Regions from separate parts of the Homo sapiens genome. Here regions 1, 2, 3, 4, 5 and 6 are each linked to region 7. Evidence: promoter capture Hi-C in 16 types of primary human blood cells and fetal thymus (Javierre and others, 2016). All regions are on one chromosome and are shown on one strand. Each heading gives the region's core, a stretch centred on a gene start or on the middle of the fragment in contact. The rest is flanking DNA. Distances are from core to core; before and after follow the strand shown. Region 1 holds the start of G6PD (glucose-6-phosphate dehydrogenase). Region 2 has its middle 16 kb from the start of PNMA5. Region 3 holds the start of FAM3A (FAM3 metabolism regulating signaling molecule A). Region 4 overlaps ZNF185 (zinc finger protein 185 with LIM domain). Region 5 holds the start of PLXNA3 (plexin A3). Region 6 holds the start of UBL4A (ubiquitin like 4A). Region 7 holds the start of BCAP31 (B cell receptor associated protein 31).

The links. Contacts are between HindIII fragments. The CHiCAGO score rates a contact against its expected background, and 5 or more counts as called.
Region 1: the fragment with the promoter of G6PD here is called in contact with the fragment with the promoter of BCAP31 in region 7 in 10 of 17 cell types (activated CD4 T cells, monocytes, naive B cells and 7 more); the score reaches 11.6 in activated CD4 T cells.
Region 2: a contact is called between a fragment that was not itself captured here and the fragment with the promoter of BCAP31 in region 7, in 7 of 17 cell types (naive CD8 T cells, activated CD4 T cells, total B cells and 4 more). The highest score is 9.3, in naive CD8 T cells.
Region 3: a contact is called between the fragment with the promoter of FAM3A here and the fragment with the promoter of BCAP31 in region 7, in 4 of 17 cell types (non-activated CD4 T cells, naive B cells, naive CD4 T cells and 1 more). The highest score is 8.1, in non-activated CD4 T cells.
Region 4: a fragment that was not itself captured here is called in contact with the fragment with the promoter of BCAP31 in region 7 in 9 of 17 cell types (total CD8 T cells, total B cells, erythroblasts and 6 more); the score reaches 13.7 in total CD8 T cells.
Region 5: a contact is called between the fragment with the promoter of PLXNA3 here and the fragment with the promoter of BCAP31 in region 7, in 6 of 17 cell types (total CD4 T cells, naive CD8 T cells, erythroblasts and 3 more). The highest score is 8.1, in total CD4 T cells.
Region 6: a contact is called between a fragment that was not itself captured here and the fragment with the promoter of BCAP31 in region 7, in 5 of 17 cell types (naive B cells, fetal thymus, total B cells and 2 more). The highest score is 7.7, in naive B cells.

The regions. Positions count from the first base shown.
Region 1 is chrX:154,545,263-154,548,095 of GRCh38, forward strand. It overlaps G6PD (glucose-6-phosphate dehydrogenase), which reads right to left and starts at 1,584. Exons shown (of 13, transcript NM_001360016.2): 1 at 1,527-1,584; 2 at 774-901. The coding sequence starts at 893. IKBKG (inhibitor of nuclear factor kappa B kinase regulatory subunit gamma) reads left to right here and starts at 2,358. Exons shown (of 10, transcript NM_001099857.5): 1 at 2,358-2,483. RefSeq lists enhancers at 620-1,163, 2,466-2,745 and a silencer at 1,466-2,025. The HindIII fragment of the contact is 7,888 bases long and covers 1-2,833 here.
Region 2 is chrX:152,976,329-152,979,430 of GRCh38, forward strand. No RefSeq gene overlaps it. Among named protein-coding and RNA genes, the nearest start is that of PNMA5, 16 kb to the right of the region's middle. The HindIII fragment of the contact is 177 bases long and covers 1,187-1,363 here.
Region 3 is chrX:154,514,563-154,517,817 of GRCh38, forward strand. FAM3A (FAM3 metabolism regulating signaling molecule A) reads right to left here and starts at 1,670. Exons shown (of 9, transcript NM_021806.4): 1 at 1,198-1,670. The coding sequence starts at 1,210. LOC124905229 (a long non-coding RNA gene) reads left to right here and starts at 918. Exons shown (of 2, transcript XR_007068357.1): 1 at 918-1,153. RefSeq lists enhancers at 938-1,561, 1,562-2,184 and silencers at 1,535-1,944, 2,160-2,316. The HindIII fragment of the contact is 19,151 bases long and covers 1-3,255 here.
Region 4 is chrX:152,950,065-152,953,182 of GRCh38, forward strand. The region is part of intron 18 of ZNF185 (zinc finger protein 185 with LIM domain); the gene reads left to right. Among named protein-coding and RNA genes, the nearest start is that of PNMA5, 42 kb to the right of the region's middle. The HindIII fragment of the contact is 270 bases long and covers 1,635-1,904 here.
Region 5 is chrX:154,456,444-154,459,670 of GRCh38, forward strand. PLXNA3 (plexin A3) reads left to right here and starts at 1,838. Exons shown (of 33, transcript NM_017514.5): 1 at 1,838-1,985. RefSeq lists enhancers at 1,246-1,315, 2,741-3,227 and silencers at 1,406-1,575, 1,706-1,945, 2,186-2,255. The HindIII fragment of the contact is 19,869 bases long and covers 1-3,227 here.
Region 6 is chrX:154,485,633-154,488,736 of GRCh38, forward strand. UBL4A (ubiquitin like 4A) reads right to left here and starts at 983. Exons shown (of 4, transcript NM_014235.5): 1 at 905-983; 2 at 596-701; 3 at 139-347; 4 at 1-17. The coding sequence starts at 952. It overlaps SLC10A3 (solute carrier family 10 member 3), which reads right to left. Exons shown (of 2, transcript NM_019848.5): 2 at 1,679-3,104. The coding sequence ends at 1,875. RefSeq lists enhancers at 1-430, 431-1,189, 1,527-1,586 and silencers at 367-516, 1,007-1,266. The HindIII fragment of the contact is 182 bases long and covers 1,676-1,857 here.
Region 7 is chrX:153,722,760-153,725,636 of GRCh38, forward strand. It overlaps BCAP31 (B cell receptor associated protein 31), which reads right to left and starts at 1,628. Exons shown (of 8, transcript NM_001256447.2): 1 at 1,575-1,628; 2 at 394-529. The coding sequence starts at 485. It overlaps ABCD1 (ATP binding cassette subfamily D member 1), which reads left to right and starts at 2,097. Exons shown (of 10, transcript NM_000033.4): 1 at 2,097-2,877. The coding sequence starts at 2,508. RefSeq lists silencers at 907-1,086, 1,297-2,256 and an enhancer at 2,717-2,877. The HindIII fragment of the contact is 9,880 bases long and covers 1-2,877 here.

The sequences.
Region 1 (2,833 bases), core at 334-2,833, 820 kb after region 7:
AGAGCTCCTTGGTAGGCTTTCGAAATTGAGGCAAAGAGACAGTGTTCAAAGAAAAGCTAAGTGTTTGTATCGACGGAACTTGAAGTGTTAGTGAAGAGGCAGAGATCAGGCCTCAGATCCTGCCTTTGGAACTCATTTGTTAAGGCATGAACAGGTCTGAAAAAACTACAGAATGAATAGCATTCCCTGTTTTCCCCAAGAAGTCCATCTAGACAGTCCCTAAAGAGCCTGCAACTCCAGGATTAAGGGCTACATTCAGCGGCTAGGCACAGGGTTCAGAAACGTCCTGCAGCCGGGCGTGGTGGCTCATGCCTGTCATCCCAGCACTTTGGGAGGCCGAGGCGGGCGGATCACTTGAGGTCAGGAGTTTGAGACCAGCCTGGTCAACATGGTGAAACTCCGTCTCTACTAACAATACAAAAATTAGCCGGGTGTGGTGGTGCATGCCTGTAATCTCAGCTACTTGGGGGGCTGAGGCAGGAGAATCGCTTGAACCCAGGAGGCCGAGGTTGCAGTGAGCCAAGATGGCGCCACTGCACCCCATCCTGGGCGACCAGAGCAAAACTCCGTCTCCAAAAAAAAAAAAAAAAAAAAGTCTTGCAAGTGCATATGCACACCAGGTAGAGCCGGGATGATCCTGGCGCACTAGCAGGAGCGGGAGGAGGAGCTCAACTTAGCAGAGCCTGTGGGGCCCTGCAACAATTAGTTGGAAAAGCTGAGGCATGGAGCAGGCACTTCCTGGCTTTTAAGATTGGGGCCTGGGAGATACTCACCGATGCACCCATGATGATGAATATGTGTGTATCCGACTGATGGAAGGCATCGCCCTGGAAAAGCTCTTCCCGCAGGATCCCGCACACCTGGGTCCGGCTCAGGGCCACCTGCTCTGCCATGACGCTGTCTGGTGGAAGAAAGGCTCGTTAACAAGGCAGAAGAACAGGAGAGCATTGAGAAGTTAGCCCCTTTCTTGAGAGTTCCTCTGGGGTCTCACACCAGGGTGACACCTGATTGCCCAAATCACTCCTTGTGAACGGCTGGGCATTGGGGAGTGGTTGATGGGTTAGAAACTGCTGGCTCTGGGCTCCAGCCACTCTCTCCTAGGCAGCCTTCATTCAGGGTGTACATTACAAAATTACTCAAAGCATTGGTGTATTCCGACTACAGCATCAATTCTGGACAACCGAGTAAAATCCTTGTGGGGCATGGAACTGCGTGCCCAGGACCATCTCATTCCCGACTGTAGCGGGAACTCCACAATGACCTGGAGCATGGGAGATGGTGCAGATGCTGGAGTTCAGCTCCAGCCCTCCCCTTGCCAAGCTGGGTGACCCCGGTCGGCAAGTCCCCTTCGCTCTCGGGGTCTCAGGGGCTCAAGAGAGGAGGTGCGGGGTATAAAGGGATTGGTTAAGACCCTCTCGATTCTGCTCGGTTCTCAAGCACAACAAACAGCGTGTATTTTACCGCCGCGCGGCGCAGCGCGGGACAGTACGCTCCTCCGCCTGCGCGGCGCCCGCCCGGCCGGTTACCTGCGCTTCGTCGTCGTCGCCCTCCGCGCTCGCAGCCCCGAAGTGTACGACCGTTTCCGGGGGCTGAGCCCCGCCGGCCCATTTAATCGGCGGGGGCGGGGGCGGGCGCCTGGGCTGAGCGGACCCGCCTCAGGCGAGGCGTGCGGGGCGGGGCCTCGGCCACCACCCCTCGTGCGGGCGGGGCGGGGCGAGGGCAGGTGCGCGCGCATCCCAGGCCAGCCCCTGCCTCTCGGGCACCTGCGCTGGAGGCCGGCCCGCCGGCTGCCTGCCATACCCGCTGCCGCTGCTCTGCATCCCCAATTCCGGCGGGCACGGGTGCAGCTCCGCGTAGTGCTCCCGCATCCCCATCGCCGGCCCGGCCCCGCCCCTACTGTCCGGTTTCCCCGCCTGCCCCGGCGGCCTCGCGCGCTCGCGGAGGGCTCCACTTCCGCCGGCAGCGTGGCCACGCCTCCTCTGGGCTGTCCCTCGGCTCCTGGGCGGGGCCTTCTGCCGCGCCACTCCCCCGGGAACCCTCGCCTGTTCGCGGGTCAAGCCGGCCCTATTGGGCAGTCTCTTCTTGATTCCTCCCCCGGAGAGGGCGGGGCGGCCGAGCGCCCCGAGGCTAGACGCCGCCGTCCGAGAGACGAGGGGGCGTGTAGGCGGTGACGCCCTGCAAAGTGGCCGGCGTGCTTATCATTACCGAGCTTCCGCGGGCCTGCAGAGCCTGGCGGACTCAGACTTCTCTCCGGAGCGGGATGCGGCCCTACCGCGGCCTCACACTTCTCGCCGGCTTCCCGAGTTCTCGGGGGCGGGGCTTGTGTTTTTACTTCCGGATCCCACAGCTATGACACCGGAAGCCGGAAGCGTGGTAGGGAAGGGCGACCGCGAAACTGGGACTTTCTCGGAGCGCCGGGGCCCTACCAGCGTTCACAGTCCGCCGCTCCCACCCTTCTCACGTCTGACGGACTCTGCTGACAGGTGTGGTCCTTTTCCCCAAAGACAGGGTTCCATCCGTGGGCGTTCCGCCGCCTCCGAAACTTCCCCCGGACGTTCAGGCTCCCCCCTCTTTTTTGGGCCCCAGCCCGTTCCTGCTCCGCGCTTCTGGAGCACTGGCCAAGGCGGGCCGATTCAGGACCCAGGTTACTTGGGCGGCGAGCTGGACTGTTTCTACTCCTCCCTCCTCCTCCACTGCGGGGTCTGACCCTACTCCTTGTGTGAGGACTCCTCTAGTTCAGAGACATATTCTGTTCACCAAACTTGACTGCGCTCTATCGAGGTCGTTAAATTCTTCGGAAATGCCTCACATATAGTTTGGCAGCTAGGTATCT
Region 2 (3,102 bases), core at 25-2,524, 750 kb before region 7:
TCAACGTAAGTTCTTTCTGTTTTCCATAAATGTCAGCCAGCTGAGAAATAGAAAGAGTACAAAGAGAGGAATTTTATAGCTGGGCCTCCGGGGGTGACATCACATATTGGTAGGACTGTGATGCCCACCTGAGCCACAAAACTAGTAAGTTTTTACTAAGGATTTCAAAAGGGGAGGGGGTGTACAAATGGGGAGTAGGTCACATGCTTTAAGGGGCAAAAAGCAGAACAAAGATCACATGCTTCTGAGGAAACAGAGCAAGGACAAAATCAGAACTCCTGATAGGGGTCTATGTTCAGCTGTGCATGTATTGTCTTGATAAACATCTTAACAGAAAACAGGGTTCAAGAGCAGAGAACCAGTCTGACCTCAAATTTACCAGGGCTGGGGGTTTCCCAATCCTAGTAAGCCTGAGGGTACTGCAGGAGACCAGGGCGTATTTCTATCCTTATCTCAACCTCATAAGACAGACACTCCCAGAGCGGCCGTTTATAGACCTCCCCCCCCAGGAATGCATTCCTTTCCCAGGGTCTTAATTATTAATATTCCTTGCTAGGAAGAGAATTTAGTGATATCTTCCCTACTTGCACACGTCTGTTTATAGGCTCTCTGCAAGAAGAAAAATATGGCTCTATTCTGCCCGACCCCACAGGCAGTCAGACCTTATGGTTGTCTTCCCTTGTTCCCTAAAAATCGCTGTTACTCTGTTCTTTTTCAAGGTGCACTGATTTCATATTGTTCAAACACACATGTTTTACAATCAGTTTGTACAGTTAACACAATAGTGGTTCTGAGTGGACCTGATGTATATTCTCAGCTTACGAAGATAACAGGATTAAGAGATTAAAGTAAAGACCGGCATAAGAAATTATAAAAGCATTAATTTTGGGAGCTGATAAATGTCCATACTAAAATGAAATCTTCACAATTTATGTTCCTCTGCTGTGGCTCCAGCCAGTCCCTCCGTTCAGGGTCTCTGACTTCCCGCAACATCTCTCCCTTTCTTTTTGAACATAACAGGATTAAGAGATTAAAGACAGGCATAAGAAATTATGAAAGTACTAATTTTGGGAACTGATAAATGTCCATGTTAAAATGAAATCTTCACAATTTGTGTTCCTCTGCCACGGCTCCAGCTGGTCTCTCCGTTCGGGGTCCCTGACTTCCCACAACACTTAGTCAGGGAAGCTTTTTTACATTTTTGTTTTTAGAGACAGATTTTTACTCTGTCACCCAGGCTGGAGAGCAGTGGCATGGTCGTAGCTCACTGCAACCTCAAACTCCTGGGCTCAAGCAGTTATCCAGGCTCAGCCACCTGAGTTGCTGAGACTACAGATGCACATACCACCACATCTAACAGAGAAGCTTTTCACAAGGACATGATATTTGGCTTTAGTATGAGTTTGCTATACAAAAGGAGGCTATCTTCCAGGCCCTCTTTAATGTTCCCCTGCACTCAGCTCCACCCCTCAAGGCTACTCACTTTCCTTGTACAGTGCATCAAGCCTTCTGTGGGGCACTGGGGATACATCAATGAGCAAGACAGACAATCTGTGAATTTGTGGAGTGACCATCTCATGGGGAGAAAGACAAAGCAACAATCCTATTTCAGTCGCAATAGCTAAAGGAGCACAGAGGTGTGTCACCTGGATTTCTGGGGCTAAGGATGGTATTCTGGGGGAGGTGACCTCTGAACTGAAACCTGAAGGATGAGAAAGAATCATTCATTCATTCATCCATTTAATAATTTAAATATTTCCTGAGCACCCACTGTGGGCCACACACTATAGTAGGCACTGAGGACACACCAGTGACAAATCAAAGACCCTGTCCTTCTGGTCAATGATAGGAAGCAGGTGCTAAATAAACATGAAAGTCTTTACTCTTTTTTCATTTTCTTTTGAACCCACTTCTTTGAGGCTCTCACCTCCACCATGGTACTAAAAATGCTAGTGCTAAGGTCCCCAATGACCACCACATTGCTAGACCCCATGCACACTTCTCAGGCCTCATTGACTGAGCAGCAGCGTTTGGTCCAGTGGACATGTATTAGTTTGTTTTCACACTGCTATAAAGAAATACCTGAGACTGGGTAATTTATAAAGGAAAGAGGTTTAATCGACTCACAGTTCCACATGGCTGGGAGGCCTCAGGAAACTTACAATCATGGCAGAAGGTGATGGGGATGCAGGCACCTTCTTCACAAGGCTGCAGGAGAGAGAAGTACAAGCAGGGGAAATGCCAACGCTTATAAAGCCATCACATCTCTGAGAAGTCACTATCACGAGAACAGCATGGGGGGAACTGCCCCCATTATCCAGTCACCTCCCTCTCTCAACATGTGGGAATTATGGCTCCCTCCCTTGACGTGTGGGGATTACAATTCGTGATTAGATTTGGATGGGGACACAGAGCCAAACCATATCAGGTCCATTCCCTTTGCTAGGCCTCTAGGCCCATTCTGCCTTTCCTTCCACCTCACTGGTCACTCCTTTTCTATCTCCATTGCTGGTTCTTTCTCATCATCCCATTCTCTCAACTTTGGAGTACTCTAGGACTTTGTTCTTAGACCCCTTCGCTTTTCTATCTGCACTCACTGCGTTGTATCACTGGGGTCCAGGCTTCAACAGATACAGTATACACTGCCTCCTTCTGGAATTGCAGCTGCTCCAGCCCACATCATCTTCCTGAACTTCAGACTTGTGTTTCAACTTCCCACAGCTCATTTCCACCTGGGGAGTCTAATTGTCATTTCATACTCAACCATGGAAGCCATGCTCTATGCATTGCCATCCACAGCTCCGTAAATGGCAGTCCCATTCTTCAGCTTGCATAGACCAAAACCTACACATCACCTGCTGATCTCCCACTGCACTTCCAGCCCATCAGCCTAGCCTGTTAACTCTCCCTGCCAAACAGATCCAGAGGCAAACCATTTCTCCCCACCTTCACCATAAACATATTGTCCCCTAATCCCCCATGTGGATGATTACAATAACCTAAGCAATCATCTTTCCTTCCTTCCCACCCTGAAGTGTACCCCAGCATGGCTGCAAGAGTGAAGAGTTTCAATCCGATCACATCCCTCTTCTGCTCCATACC
Region 3 (3,255 bases), core at 420-2,919, 790 kb after region 7:
CCGGCTAATTTTTTTGTATTTTTAGTAAAGACGGGGTTTCACCATGTTAGCCAGGATGGTCTTGATCTCCAGACCTCGTGATCCGCCCGCCTCGGCCTCCCAAAGTGCTGGGATTACAGGTGTGAGCCACCGCACCCGGCCATGCCTGGCTAATTTTTGTATTTTTAGTAGAGACGGGGTTTCACCATCTTGGCCAGACTGGTCTCGAACTCTTGACCTCAGGTGATCCACCCGCCTTGGCCTCCCAAAGTGTTGAGATTACAGGCGTGAGCCACTGCGCCCAGCTGTCTTTACTTTTTTGAGACGGAGTCTCGCTCTGTCGCCCAGGCTGGAGTTATGCGGTGGCGCAATCTCGGCTCACTGCAACCTCAGCCTCCCGGGTAGCTGGGATTACAGGCACCCGCCACCACGCCAGGCTCATTTTTTTGTATTTTTTTAGTAGAGATGAGGATTCACCATGTTGGCCAGGCTGGTCTCGAACTCCTGACTTCAAGTGATCCTCCCACCTCGGCCTCCCAAAGTGCTAGGATTACAGGCGTGAGCCACCGCGCCCGGCCTGTAGTGTGTTTTTAGATGATGTCATCTACTCCTAGCTCTTTAATTAAGCACCATGTGTCAATGACTTTCTATTTTCTAGTTCCAGCCGTGGCCTCTCTTGAAACCACTCCCTGCCAGCTGGTTCCTCAGTGGCCAGCTCCACCTGGATATGTCCACAAAGTTACCACCTTAGCAAGTCTGAAGTCCAATTCCCGAGTTGTTTCTACTCTCCACCCAGCCCCAACCTATCCCTCCCCAAGGATCTTCATCTTACTTGTCCAGGTGACAGTAGGGCTGTCATCGGGTTCATGTCGAAGCCCACAGCCACTTTTGTCACTTCCCCTCTAAGACCACGCCTCTCCACCTGGACTGCCCACCTCCTCTCTCTCACCACTCATTTTCCAAAAAGCAGCTGGTCTGCTACCTGCGTTGGGAGATACTGACTATACTAATCCTCATGTCATAGCTCGGGGAGCTGACGTCCTCAGAGGTGAAAGGATTTGGTTAAGGTCAAGGAACGAGTGTTTGTGCAGAGTCCTCCATTTCCAAAACCAAACCCAGTGGTTCACCCGGGCCTCTCCAGACACAGATGTCGCGACGCTGGGCCTCCAGCCAGGTGCCCTTTTCAACTCCCTCCCGTTCGCTGTGGAAGCCACCCACCTGCCAACCTCATGTCCACTTCTCCTGCTGGGTTGGGACCGCCGGCAAGTGCACTGTTTGGGGGCAAAGCGGAAGGACAGGTTTGGGTGGGGGTCAGGGGCAAGCCTGTGCGGGACCCCTGCTGGGGGCGGGCGCGATCGGTGCTACGACCTGTTTGTCCAGCCGCCCGGCCAGGCAGGGCTCCTCGGAAACGCGCGGGGAAACCCTGCCTGGCCAGGAGGGGCCTCAGGAACCCGTTGGCTCACGATCTTGCCCACAGGAGCCTCCGGGGCTGGGACGAAGATGTGGTTCTCCTGGGCTCGGGCCGTTCCTCCGGGCCTGGGGGCTGGCGATGCGGGCCGGGCCGGAGATTTCTCTGGCCGTGGGGAGACGTGGGCTCGGTCAGGGAGGTTCCCTGTCAGGCCCGCCGACCCGCTCCGCCCCGGGAGAGGACGCAAGGCCGCTGCGCAGGGTGGCCAGGCAGGCCCGGCAATGGCGGCTAAGGGCGGGGCCACAGCCCGCCGGCCCCGCCCCCGGCAGCAGCTGCGCCGTCTGGCTCCACGCAGGCCCCGCCTCCAGACCCGCCTCTACCGCTCGCGCTGGCCGCCGCATGGGAGGGGCCTGAACCTGTCCCGCCCCGAACCTGTCCCGCCCCTGGATCCCTCGTCGGCCCCACCTCCGCAGTGCGTTCAGGCTGAACCCACCGGCCGCCGAGTGGGAGGGGCCCACGTCGGTCCCGCCCCGGAAGTCTCCCCTCGGCCCTTTCTCGGGTGGGAGAGCCCTGCCTACCCAGGCTTAGAGGGCTGGGGCTGCGCTTGCACCCTGAGGTCAGATTTGTGAGTCGTGGGAAGACGCAGATGGATCTGGGGCAGAATTAGAACCTGTTCCAAAGTTGATCCATGCGCTTTGTAAAGGCAAGGGAGGTACAGAGGCGCAGATAGGGAAGACCGCAGGATCCAGCGTGAGCCTCTGGCTGCCTTTCCTTAGGGTCTGTTTTCTGTCCAGAAGCGCGTTCCTGCTGTCTCTCGTTATCACTTTTATAATGGGACGGGGCGTCTCAAACTATTTCGACATCCTTGAAAACTCTTGCCTGCTCCGCCTGCCTGGTCTCTAACACCCTCCTCCTCAGAGCTGCTCAAGCTGTGTTGTTTACGCCACACCCCACCCTAAAAGCAGAGGAGAATACAACTTTCGGGGGCAGTGGAGGGGGGAGTTTAGCGCTATAACCCGAGGCTTTCACAGCAAACCAGAATTTATTTTGAGGCCTCTCAGGTTCAGCTTTCAAGTCACGTGACTTTCGCGTCCTACACAACTCTTATTTTCACTTGAAAACAAGTGTGACGTCGTGAATTCCCTAACAATAGGAAAAAAGAAGGCTCCAGAAAGAGCGGTGCTTGGCTTTCCCAGCGGCTCCAAATGGTGCCCGGCACCCAGCTGGCTGTATGGACCTGGGGTGGTCTCCGGCCGCAGGCAGACGCGGCCCTTCGGCCTTTCTCCAGTCACCCCAATTCTCCCTGACTGCCTGGCTATCTCCCCTCCGCGCCTGCCCGCACGCTGCCCCCAACACTGCCCGGGCTCCCTCTGCCCATGAGAACACGGGTCAAGCTCCCGTCCCTTCTGCCCTGCCGGCTGCCCCAAGTGCGCCCTGACCACCTACTGCGCTGGCATGGCCGGGGCCACCCTGACAGCTGATCCATCATCTGTCTGGAGAGCAGCAGCAGGGCCCAATGAGAACCACGGAAACCTCCCTGCCCTTTGACCCAACTTACGGGAATCTCCTACCCTTAGGGAAACAATGCAAAATATAGAGAAAGTTTATAGAGCCGGGCATGGGAGAGCCCTGGTTAGAATCCAGCAGCTTCTATACTGGAGTACTCAACAGGGTCAAGGTCCCTTTCAGCTGCCTGCTGCTGGGGCCAGGGCTTTGCATTTGCGTTTTGTCATGGAATTTGACAGCCTCTCAAGTAATTATGGTAACGAATCTTGGGCTCCATGCCCTCCTCAGGGGGGCCCAGTCGAAGAAGCTCCAGGTTACTCACACCCTTGAGCTGCCAGCCGGTGTTTTTCAAAGACAATATT
Region 4 (3,118 bases), core at 520-3,019, 770 kb before region 7:
ATAAAGGAAGAACTCATTATATTTCTTGGATGACTTTACTGGGGAAATGGATTCCTTAGTCATTTGAAAGAAGCGGTAGAATTCCACATGTGGGGAATACTTGTTCTAACAAAAGCTTAATAACATTAGTGGCAATGATCCTTTTATATAAGGGAAAGCTTCAAGCCAGTGAGAAAAACATAAATAAACTAGTAAGAACATATTTATAACCATGAGATTTGGGTGCAGAATAAAATCAAATTGGCAGTTCAGGAAAGGTCCTAAACATCTGTATATTAACAATATTCCATCAGTGAGCAATGTGAATTTCCCATAATTGAAATGATGATTGATAACCTTGTATTGTTCTTATCTAATATAAGGCAAAGCAGCACTGGGGCTTTGATAAAGAGCAATATCTCATGTACACTGAGGACACTGAAACCCCGCTAGGAATTCTATGGAATTTCTAAAATATTTATATTAAGGACATTTTACCCATTATAGACTAATTTAGGGAAGGTTCTGCATTTTTTTTTTGATTTGACAATGTTTCCAATGCAATTTATACAATATTAAATAAGACTAATTAGTTTTTGCACCTTTCTTGTTACAAGGTGAAAGAACTAATCCTTTGAGATTTTCCAGAAGGTCCCTGGCAAATCCCAAAGCCAGTTTTAGGTATAAAATATATTTAAGTTTTGATTGTGGGAAGGCAAATGTTAAGAGTTGTCAGGAGTTCTCGAACATTTGATTGAATAGCATTATGGGTTAGCGAGAAATACTACTTGGTTAGCTAGTGAATCAGAGTTGTAAAAATTTTCAAGTAAACATATGAGGTAACATGGTTGTAAAGAATCTTCAGTTCCTTTAAAATTGAAAAGACTTTAAAAAAATAACTAAGGACATAATAAACTGAACATACAGATAGGGCATTACAGTATTTTGATAAGACATAAAATCTTTGCCTCTTAGGCAGATGACTCAGAAGAAAAACAGACCATTTATAACTTTTTATTAGGGACAGACCAATGATCAAGAATTTTTTTTTTTTTTTTTTGAGATGGAGTCTTGCTCTGTTGCCCAGGCTGGAGTGCAGTCGCGCGATCACCATGTTGGCCAGGCTGGTCTCGAACTCCTGACCTCAGGTGAACTGCCCACCTCAGCCTCCCAAAGTGCTGGGATTACAGGCGTGAGCCACTGCACCTAGCCTAAGAAAATTTTGTTATTTTAACAGAGAAACCAACATTTTAATTTTATACAAGTATAATATTTGATATTAGTTCTTTTTTGAAAATCTTATAAATACACTGAATAAAAGTTTTAACCATGACAAATAAAATTCCTTTTCTGTGAACATTTTCTAATTTTAAAGATATTTGTTTACATTTTGTCTCACACATTTTTAAATTATTTGTCATTTTAATTTGGGACAAAGCTATTCTCTTTTTCCTTAGGAAAAGCATATTTGCATACAAAGTTGTTTCCCTTTGCCATTTTTGCCATTATTACTTTTAGCAGTTTATATATATATATACACACACACTTATTTACTTATTATAATTTTAACCATTAATAACTTCTCTTTCACAGAGAAAACAGGAGGTAGGTAATTTTGAAATATCATATACCAGCATTTTGTAGCAGACTAGTAAAGCTTATGAATATACATCTCATAACTTTTTATAGTTGTTATATACTTTTTATAGTACCATTTTGCAATGTGGACAAATGAACACATTTAACAGATCCATATGTAGTCACACTGTACCATAAAAAAAGCAAAAAGTATATAAACTTAAATTTAGGTCTAGTGACTAAGTATTTTATCTTCTTTATAAATGATATTTAATGAATTTAGTTAACTTAATTCAGCATAAGTCTAAGGTTTTAAGTTACCAAAAAGATTTTAGAAACTGCCTTTAAGCTTACATATTATAAAACATAATTACTGTTGAAATAAAGTTTGCCAGAATAATGACTCAGTTTGGTTAAAAGCAAATTTAAATTTTTATAATCTTAAACATGTAGTAGATATAATACTAGCTTATTCAACATGTAAACCTGTTTAAGTTTAGGAGGAACATACCCAAGTAGAGTAAAAATATATGCTTGTATTCTGTTGTATTATATGTAATGCTGATAACTCAAAGACACATAGGTGTCTATTAAACTAACAATATTAAACTAGTTTTGTTTGCCAAAAGTTTACATAAATTCTGTGAACTTGAGTTTTAAAAGCATTTGGGTTAGTTTTTATAAGAATACTTTTTTGTTGTTTACACTGAAAGTATTAGAAGTTGTTTCCTTAATTTATGAGAGCTTTATAATAATTTATATAAGTACTTATTTATCTCTAAGTCAATTAGAATAGAGGATAAGGGATTTTGTAAATTAATTTGGTAATGCCATCTGGAGGTACTGAACTATTACACATATACAACATACATGTATACTAAACATACAGACAGACACAAATAGAGATCTAATGGCGAGCCCTCAATGGGTGCAGGGGGCCTGAAGCTCTACTGGCTATAGGCAGTTGAGAGGGCTGAGTGGGAAGGGGAAAGCCTGGTGAAGAGTAGATAGGGGTATGTAGGAGGTAGAGGCATTGAAGGGGACAGATGAAAAGATTCAGGGAGCTGAAGGGAAGGTCCAAGGTGGTGAAAAGAAGGGAAGAGGGATGCGGTAGGAAGATGAGAAGGGGGAATCTTAGATGAGCAGGTTTGGGGAGACCCCAGGTTCCCTAATAAGGTCACTGAAGTTCCAAATTACCCTTCGTGATTACTTTTTTTTTTTTTTTTTGCCAGTTTTGGAAATACTGGACAGAATGAGTGCCATAGGGGCAGGGCATGTAGTCAGCAAGGGAGGAGGAGGAGGATGAGGAGGAGGAAGGGCACCCAGTAGATTGAGAGTTACCTGTGGGAAGAGGCAGATCAAATAGAGAAAGGAGCCAGGCTGGACAGTCTCATTAGGAAGTTCTGCACACAGTCGTCATCTGGGAGCCAAAGTTTCTCTTCAGTCCTCATTGAGGAGCTGAAGGGCTTTCCTTGTGCAATCTCTAGACAAGGTGTCAAGGGAAACAATGAGGCCTCACAAAAGAGCCAGGAATTTGGAGTAAATCTCCACTCAAAAGGAA
Region 5 (3,227 bases), core at 588-3,087, 730 kb after region 7:
TATCAAGGGTGATCTCTTTTACTTAAAGTCAGTTGAGGGCCAGGCATGGTGGCTCATGCCTATAATCTCAGTGCTTTTTTTTTTTTAGACAGAGTCTTGCTCTATCTCCCAGGCTGGAGTGCAATGGCACGATCTTGGCTCACTGCAACCTCCCCCTCCCAGGTTCAAGAGATTCTCGGCCGGGCGCGGTGGCTCACGCCTGTAATCCCAGCACTTTGGGAGGCCGAGATGGGCGGATCACAAGGTCAGGAGATCGAGACCATCCTGGCTAACACGGTGAAACCTCGTCTCTACCAAAAATACAAAAAAATTAGCCGGGCGTGGTGGCGAGTGCCTGTAGTCCCAGCTACTTGGGAGGCTGAGACAGGAGAATGGCGTGAACCCGGGAGGCGGAGCTTGCAGTGAGCCGAGGTCACACCACTGCACTCCAGCCTTGGCGACAGAGCAAGACTTTGTCTAAAAAAAAAAAAAAAAAAAAAAAAAATTCTCCTGCTTCAGCCTCCTGAGTAGCTGGGACTACAGGCATATGACACCATGTCCGGCTAATTTTTGTATTTTTTGTAGAGATGGGGTTTTGCCATGTTGGCCAGGCTGGTCTCGAACTCCTGACCTCAGGTGATCCGCTCACTTCAGCCTTCCAAAATGCTGGGATTACAGGCTTGAGTCACTGCACCCAGCATATGCCAGTACTTTGGAAGGCTGAGGCAGGAGGATTACTTAAGCCCAGGAGTTCAAGACTAGCCTGGGCAGTGTAGCAAGACCCTGTCTCTCTCTACAAGAATAGGAAAAGTTAGCCAGGCGTGGTGGCACTTGCCTGTGGTCCCAGCTACCTGGGAGGCTGAGGCAGGAGGATCCCTTGAGCCCAGGAAGTCGAGGCTGCAGTGAGCCATGATCCAATGCCGCTACACTGCAGCCTGGGTGATAGAGCGCGACCTCAACTTGGGGGGAAAAATCTGTCTATCTATCTATCTCTCCATATATGTGTTTAATAAAAATGGGCAAATGACTTGAATAGACATTTCTTCAGAGATCATATACAAAAGGCCAGCAAGCACATGAAAAGATGCTGAACACCATTAGTCATCAGGGAAATGAAAAAGAAAACCTTAACGGGGCGCGGTGGCTCACACCTGTAGTCCCAGCACTTTGGGAGGCTGAGGCGGGAGCATCGTTTGAGCCTGGGGCGGTCGAGGCTGCAGTGAGCTATGATCTCACCACTGCACTCCAGCCCGGGTGACAGAGCGAGACCCTGTGTCAAAAGAAAACAAAAAAAGAAAAGGAAAAAGAAAGCAAGGGAAGGAAGAAAGCCCTCGGTTCAGGGTCGCCGGGGAAGGGGCTGGTTTGGACGGCTGTCCCGCAGGCCCTCCGGGTTAGAGACCGTCGGGGGCGTGTCTTGAGCTGGGGACGCGACTCCTCGGCGGGGGTGCACCTGAGAGGCCGGGACCAGCGAGGCCGCGCCCCGGTGGCAGGTGACCCCGGGCGCGTCTCCGAGCGCCAGGGTGGGGCGAGGCGGACGCGCGCCCCAGGCCCGAGGGGGTGTGGCGCGGGCGCGCGCGGGTTCCGGGGTCGCCCGAGGCGGCGGGCGGGGAGCCGGGGCGCGGGGGAGGCGCGCGCCGCGGACGCGGCCATCGAGCGAAGGGGGTCGGCTGGCCGGGCGGGTCCCCCTTCAGGTCGCGGGGGTCAGGGCTGCGCGCGAGGTCCCTGGCCCCGGGGAGCAGCGGCCCCGCCTGCGTCCCCTGCCGCCGCGTCCCCCTCGGCCGGGCGTCCCCGGACGCCCCCGCCCCGCGCGGTGGTACGGTCCGGGTTTAAAAGGCTCCGGCGGCCCCCGGGCCAGCCCAGTGTGTGGGCGGCGGCGGCGGCGGCTGCGCGCTTGGGGCCCGGGGCGCGGGGCGAGGCCGTGGGGACGTGCGAGCGGGGCCGCGGTGGGGCTCGGGGGCGCGTCCACGTGGCCAGAGGGCGGCCACCCGGAGCCAGCGGAGGGACAGGTAGGTGGCCGTCATCGTCGCCGTCCGTGCGGGGCCAAACAGCTCGGGGCCCGGGGCTCCGGCAGCCCGGGGGTCCGGCTCGGCCTGTGGGGGTCAGGCCCTATCCCTGCCCGTCGGCGCCGGCCTGCCCGACTCCTTGTGCCCCGCATGGTGGGGACGCCAACCCAAGACCAACACCCTGCCCAAAGAGGACCCTTTGTCGCAGGGGAGCGGCCCCTCGGAGGATCAACGCTGTACTTCCCTCCCGCTAAGGGCTCCGCGAGTCCGCCGAGGGGTGCCCTGATGGGGCCCGGGCAAACCGGACCAGCAGCACGGTGGGGGGTGTGGGGGGCGGCCGCTGGACCCCCGTCTCTGCGTGGGGCTGCCCCTTCCTCAGGCTCTCTGCTGGCCCAGCTGTACCTGTGATGCCCGAGGTTGCCACTTACAGGTGGGGGCTGGGCCTGAAACTGCCTCCCCAGGTCTCCCTCCCGACCTGTCCCCAGCCTGTTCCTAGGCTTGTGTTCCCGGGGTGTAGAGGAGGTGAAGACAGGATGTGGCCTCTCTTTTCTTTGGCCTTCCTTTCTTCTCCGGCTGTTGCATGAGGGGTCCAGCTGACAAAAGAGCCCTGGAGAGGTGATCAATCTGAGCTGAAACTTTGCAGTTTCAAGCTGGGCCCGCTGCTTGTTCCTGGCAAATGCCTTATTTTTCCTTTCTCTCTCCTGTGCCTCCTTGGTTTGGTTCCCTGCACCACCCCCCGCTCCCCCCCCGCCTCCCGCCCTCAAGCTGGGTACCTCCTATCTCCCCCGGGAGCTCTGGCACTGAGAGGGTAGCGCTGAGCCCTGCCCTGTTGGCTGCCACGACACTGCTCTGCTGTCTTAGCAGCCTGGGGCTGACTGGGTGTGGCCTGGGGACTAAGTGCCAGTCCCAGCACTGTCCCTGTGGCTCCTGCCCTGTCTCTCCAAGGCCTTGACTGTATTTGGGGACATTGCTCCTCCTCTTGTAAGGCTCCTGGGACTCCAAAGGGCAGGTAGGGCCCCCTGTACATTCCCTTCTCCAGTGAACCCCTGGGTCTGGAGGGGGAGCCATGCAGGCTGTGGCTGAGCAGAGCTTGACTGATGTGTGTCTGGGTGCGTGGCTGAGGGGCAGGCGCGACTTGGCTTTGTGTTGCATCGGGGAGGCCAGACAGCGGGCTCCTGGATGGCCAGCTGAGGCCCTTGTCGGGGAGGCAGCTGGGGCCCCTGCAGGGGACATGGTGGTGCTGGA
Region 6 (3,104 bases), core at 517-3,016, 760 kb after region 7:
AGGGACCTCTCGTAATCCTGGGGAGAGAAGGGCAGGAAGATTCAGGGGCTGCCAGTGGTGGGGGGGCATACACTGCAACAGAGGTAGGGGCTGGGAGCAACTGGGCCTGAAGAGGATGCCCAGGGTTACCCTTCTCACCCTCTGTAGCTGTTCCAGGACCCTGCTGGCATCTGCCGCACTGAAGTGGCGGGCCAAGACTTTGGAGATCAGCTGCCAGACCTGCGGGGGTGGGGAGTCGGCCAGCCTCTGGGCCTCGCCTTCTTCTAGTAGCACCTTCTCCAGGGGTTTGACCACTAGGTTGAGCTTGGAGTTGGGCCCGATGCTATAATCCGAGAGTCGTTTCCCATCTGCCAAAGACAGATCGATGGGTTCCTCCTCCTCCACCGCCGTGGGGGTGGCCCGGGGCGCGAGGCCGCCTCGGGCGGCGGGAGCGGAGCGCTGCGGCATCCGGCTGTGAGGCATGCGGCCGCCTCCCTTGGGGTCATGTGGCGCTTGGCGCCCGCACCCCGACCCGACACACGGCTGCTGGCCTCGGCCCGCGCACCCCGGTCCCGCTTCCTGCGGGGCTCCCCGGGCGTCTCCTCTCCCTGGGTACCTGCCAGGGCCTTGCCCTTGAACAGCAGCCGCTGCTGGCGCACTGGGACGTTCAGCTTCTCGGAGACCAGCTGCTTCAGCGTGGACACCAGCTCGTCCTCTGGCACCTGGCCGCGCGGAGGGTGGGAGGCAAGGGTTGAGCCCGCGGCCCCCAGACGGCGAAGCCCACGCGTCCGCCCCCGAGGGCAGCTCTCCCGGCTCCCGGCCCTCGGCCCGGCCGCCCCGTGCCCGCCCTCGGCCCTGCCGGTCCCCCTGCCAGGAGCGGGCGAGAGAGCGCGCCGGACCCGGCGGCCCGGCCCGGGGACCCTACCTGCAGGCTGCACTCGCGGCCCTGCAGCGCCTTCACCGTCAGCTGCATGGCGGTCGCGACGGCGTCCACTCGGGCCGGCGCGCACCCCAACCACCCCCCGCCGCGCGCCGCCGCCCCGGGCGCGCGCTGGAACCGCCCGCCGCCGCCGGAAGCAGCGAGAGGGGCGCGCCCGCCGCCCGCGCTTCCCGGCCCCGCCCTCCTGCCCCGTCCGCGCCCCGGCCCCGCCCCCCGGCCCAATTGCGCCCCGGGAGGAGTCCCCCCGGGGTCCCGCCTAGCATGCGCGCATCGACCGCCCTGGCCGGCGGACCCCTCCCAAAGCAACGACGCGGGGGAGTTGGGAGCAGGAACCAGTCGGGCCAGGTTGGCGTCATCTGGGAGCTGGGACATGGAGAAGGGAGGGCCAGAAGGTACGCTCGCCCCCGCGGACTGCCTGGCCCACCTCACGCGCCAGGACTGCTGGCGGCGCCTGGCCCTGCATACCCACAGACGGCCCGCCCCCGCTCCCTGTCTGGTGGCTTCCTACCTCCTCCTTTCTGGTCTGGCTGCGAAACGCTCCACTGAGCTTGAGAGGGGGCAGGGGGGCTACGCCTCTGCCCTCATCCTCCCACCTCTCCCAGAGTGGGGACACCCCCGGGGAGGGCTGATAGGGAAAGCCTATGCAGGGGTCACCGTGTCACCCAAGCTGGCCCTCCACCCTGGTCCACACTTACCCAGCACACTCTTTCTACCCCCACGCCCAGGCCCCAAAGGGCAAAGAGTAGAAGGGACCCAAGCTTGCTTCTCTCTTTTATTGAAATATATTTTCTGGGCAGCGCCCACCTACCTAACTCAGCATGGCCTCTTTGGCACTGAAAGCTGGAGAATAAAAAATCAGTAAAAAAAATAAGCCTGGATTTTTCTGAGTGCATAGTGCATGAGAACTTTGGTGGAGTGTGGGGGCTGGGGCTGATGAAAGCTTGACCCAGAGGCCTCAGGGAACTGGGAACAGGCTGCTGTAGATGAAGTGGCCAATGACCAAGGCCAGCATCTCGGAGGTGCCGCTCAGCGCCACAATGAAGGGGGCCTGGGAGGCATAGTCAGCTTGAAGGCGGCGGAGGGATAGCTGCAGCATGGCCAAGGCCAGCAGGCTGTTCTGCACCCCTACCTCAATGCTGACCGTCCGCCGCTGGGCCACTGGCAGCTTCAGACACGTGGCTAGGCAGTAGCCCACCAACAGGCCAACCAGGGGCACCGTGATACCCACCAGTACGATGGGTAGCCGGATGCCTGCCAGGATGAAGACCCCCATGCGATAGGCCAGGAAGAGGCCGCCCAGGAGGAGCACAAAGCTGAAGGGCTTGACGACCTGCAGCAGCAGCTGGGAGAACTTGGGGAGCTTGGACTTGATCAGCACGCCCACGGCTATGGGGATGGCAATGAACAGCAGGGTCCCCAGGATCTTGGAGATGGGCACGTGGAGCGTCTCATGGATGCTGAGCAGGCGGCTGTAGATGGCCGAAGACAGAGGCAAGAAGCCAGTGGCAGCCACCGTAGAGAGGAAAGTCATGGAGATGGCCAGGGTGACGTCCCCTCCAAGAAGGAGGCTGAAGAGGTAGCTCCCCCCGCCGCCAGGCGACGAGCAGGTGATGATGAGGCCCAGAGCCAGGGCCTTGGGCAGCATGAAGACCTTGGCCATGAGGAAAGCGTACAAGGGCATGACCAGAAACTGGCCCAGGAGGCCCAGCAGCATGGGCTGGGGGCTCTGCATGAGCCCCTTCAGAACCTCGAGTTCCACTTTGCACCCAAACGAACACTTGTTGACAAAGATAAGAGGCAGGAGCAGGTAGAGGATTGGGTTTTCCGAGAAGTGGGCCAGGTCGGCGCTGAGGGTGGCAGGCGTGTCTTCAGCAGGTGAGACCTTGATGCAGAAGTCTCTCCGCTCCTCAATCAGTGTGGGCGGGGCCTCATGGGCGTCCACGAGCTGGATGTGGAGTGGGGCCAGCCCAGCCAGGCCTGAGTGGATGCTCACCACAAAGCCACCCCCGCCTCCCCAGGTTATAGCACTCACGTTCTTGATGGTCAGCACCTCTGTGTCCAGGGAGGTGACCCTGAGCATGGGGCCAGGCGCCGTCCTGTTGGCCTGGCCTGGGTACTGGCTGGAGATCACGATGATGCCCTCACTGTCCTCAGGAAACTCAAACTCCATCACAGAGCCATCTCC
Region 7 (2,877 bases), core at 378-2,877:
TTAGGAGGACAAGAGTCACCAAATCAGCAACAACGTGACCCAGTGGTGCAAGTCTTCCGAATCCCACGCTACCATCCCAGCACCCCGTGGACCAAGAGTGGGTGGGAGGGCATCATTTCCAGAACTGTAACATAGATCTTCCTGCCTCTCGGGGGCATTCTGAAGACCAGAAGGCAGGGGACACAGGAAAAGGAACTGAGCAAGTCATGACGAAGCAGAACCCTGGGAAGGGTTGGCAATAACAAACACAACCCCTGCCACCCCCACCCCAGACAGGTTCTACCTGTTCCATCGGGTCCCAATTCCAGGGTCCACCAGCTGCACACACCAGTCCCAGGGCTAGGGCACAGGCACCCTCCTGCCTAACTCGCCTGCTTGCTCCATAGGCCATACCTTTTAGGAGAAATGAAGGGAATGCAGAGAAGCAACACAACAAAGACCTCCGCATAGAGGAAGGTGGCAACTGCAGTCCACTGCAGACTCATCCTGTTGCTAGAAGGTTTCCCACAGGAAGATGTGAGCTTGTTTCCTGGCAGGGCACAAAAGGTACGGGACTTGTAAGCGCTGGGCAGCCAAGAACATCCAGTTCAGTTACCCTGCGAGGCTGGGGCCGCCACTCTCCACCCTGACCCCCTGCACTTTGCTTCAAAGTCTCTGATGCGCTGGCGGAAGCAGGGCTCCACTCGGCAGGGCCTCTTGGCCAGCAGCGTTCACAGGCCCCACAAACTTCCGTTCGCTGGTCAATTACCTGCCCCCTCCAGCACGTGTGTCAACACGTCCAGAGCGGCCTCTCCCGACGATCCCTGCCCCAGGAAGCCCGAGATTTCCGACGCCCGTTTAACTGAAAGGCGTTCTTCGGGAAGAGCAGTGCCAGGGCACCAAGAGGAGGACGCCTCGGCACCCATCGGGCGCTCCCTTCCCCGCCAGGCAGAACTCAGCCGCAGAGGCGGGCGCTCTGCGGGCCCAAATCCCCGCTACCAGGCAGGCCCAAGGCCGCACCTAGTCCAAGCGCTGCCGACGCCCCCGCCTCCCACCGTCCCCACGGCGCCCGCGGAGAGAAACCGGCACCTCCCTCGAGGATCCAGCGGCCTTCCGCCCGGGGCCGCTTCGCCTCCGGTGGGCTGGAGGCCCGCAAGAGCGACTCCTAGAGGGCAGGATTCGGGACCAAGCGCAAAGGCAGGTCTCGACCAAGCACCTCAAGGCCCCATACGGAGAAAGTTCTAGACGCAGTATCCTCAGAAGCCAGGGGTCCTTACAGTAGCCCTCGCGGGCCCCAGCGCCCACCCAGAGCGAGGGGCCTCCGACTTGGCCCCGGCCTGGCACACCGTCCCGGAGGCCCATCCCGGCCGCTCCTCCAGGTGGGGCTTCACCGCCCCCCGCCCCGCCCCCGAGACCAGCTTCTAGAGGCGCCGCCCGGTTTCCCCTCGCCCCTGCCTCTCACACGCAGGTAGGCTGCGGGCCCCGAGATTCCCCGGCCCCCGGGCCTCCCCGCGCCGCTCGCCTCTCTCCCTCGTCGATGGGCCGGGGAGCCTCCGCGGTCCCGGAGCCCAGCCCGGCGCGCGGAGCCCGCTCACCGAGTTTCCCACAGTCAACGTGCAGGCCCCGCCGCAGCAACAGAACTCTCCCACAGCAGCCCCGGCCCCGCCCCTCATACCGCGGCCGGAAACCGGAAGCGCCCGCCGGGCACCGCCCACCAGCCCTCGCGAGGCCCCGGAGGCTCCGCCCACCTCCGCTTCCCACCCCGCCCCGGAGCGGAGGGCCGGCGCTCCGAGCGGGAGAGGAAGAGGCGCCTCGGGCTCCGGGCGAGCAGGGCGGGGTGGAGCGAGCACGCGGGCGGGGCGGGGCGGGGCTTTGTCGGGCCGGCGAGGGCCGCTTCTCTAGTCCGCGCGGCCGTCCCACGTCTCTGTGGTGCGGGAGGGGCCCCGCCGAGGGGCGAGAACGGGAGGTGGGGGTGTGGGCGGGCCCCGCCGAGGGGCGAGAACAGGGTGGGGCTCCCGCGCCCGGACTCCGCCCCTCGCCCCTCCTCCGCCTCCTCCCCTTCCCCCGACTCGCCCCTGGGGAAGAGTGGGTGGGGATTCTGGGCCGGTGGAGGAGTCACTGTCGCTTCAGCCAGGCTGCGGAGCGGACGGACGCGCCTGGTGCCCCGGGGAGGGGCGCCACCGGGGGAGGAGGAGGAGGAGAAGGTGGAGAGGAAGAGACGCCCCCTCTGCCCGAGACCTCTCAAGGCCCTGACCTCAGGGGCCAGGGCACTGACAGGACAGGAGAGCCAAGTTCCTCCACTTGGGCTGCCCGAAGAGGCCGCGACCCTGGAGGGCCCTGAGCCCACCGCACCAGGGGCCCCAGCACCACCCCGGGGGCCTAAAGCGACAGTCTCAGGGGCCATCGCAAGGTTTCCAGTTGCCTAGACAACAGGCCCAGGGTCAGAGCAACAATCCTTCCAGCCACCTGCCTCAACTGCTGCCCCAGGCACCAGCCCCAGTCCCTACGCGGCAGCCAGCCCAGGTGACATGCCGGTGCTCTCCAGGCCCCGGCCCTGGCGGGGGAACACGCTGAAGCGCACGGCCGTGCTCCTGGCCCTCGCGGCCTATGGAGCCCACAAAGTCTACCCCTTGGTGCGCCAGTGCCTGGCCCCGGCCAGGGGTCTTCAGGCGCCCGCCGGGGAGCCCACGCAGGAGGCCTCCGGGGTCGCGGCGGCCAAAGCTGGCATGAACCGGGTATTCCTGCAGCGGCTCCTGTGGCTCCTGCGGCTGCTGTTCCCCCGGGTCCTGTGCCGGGAGACGGGGCTGCTGGCCCTGCACTCGGCCGCCTTGGTGAGCCGCACCTTCCTGTCGGTGTATGTGGCCCGCCTGGACGGAAGGCTGGCCCGCTGCATCGTCC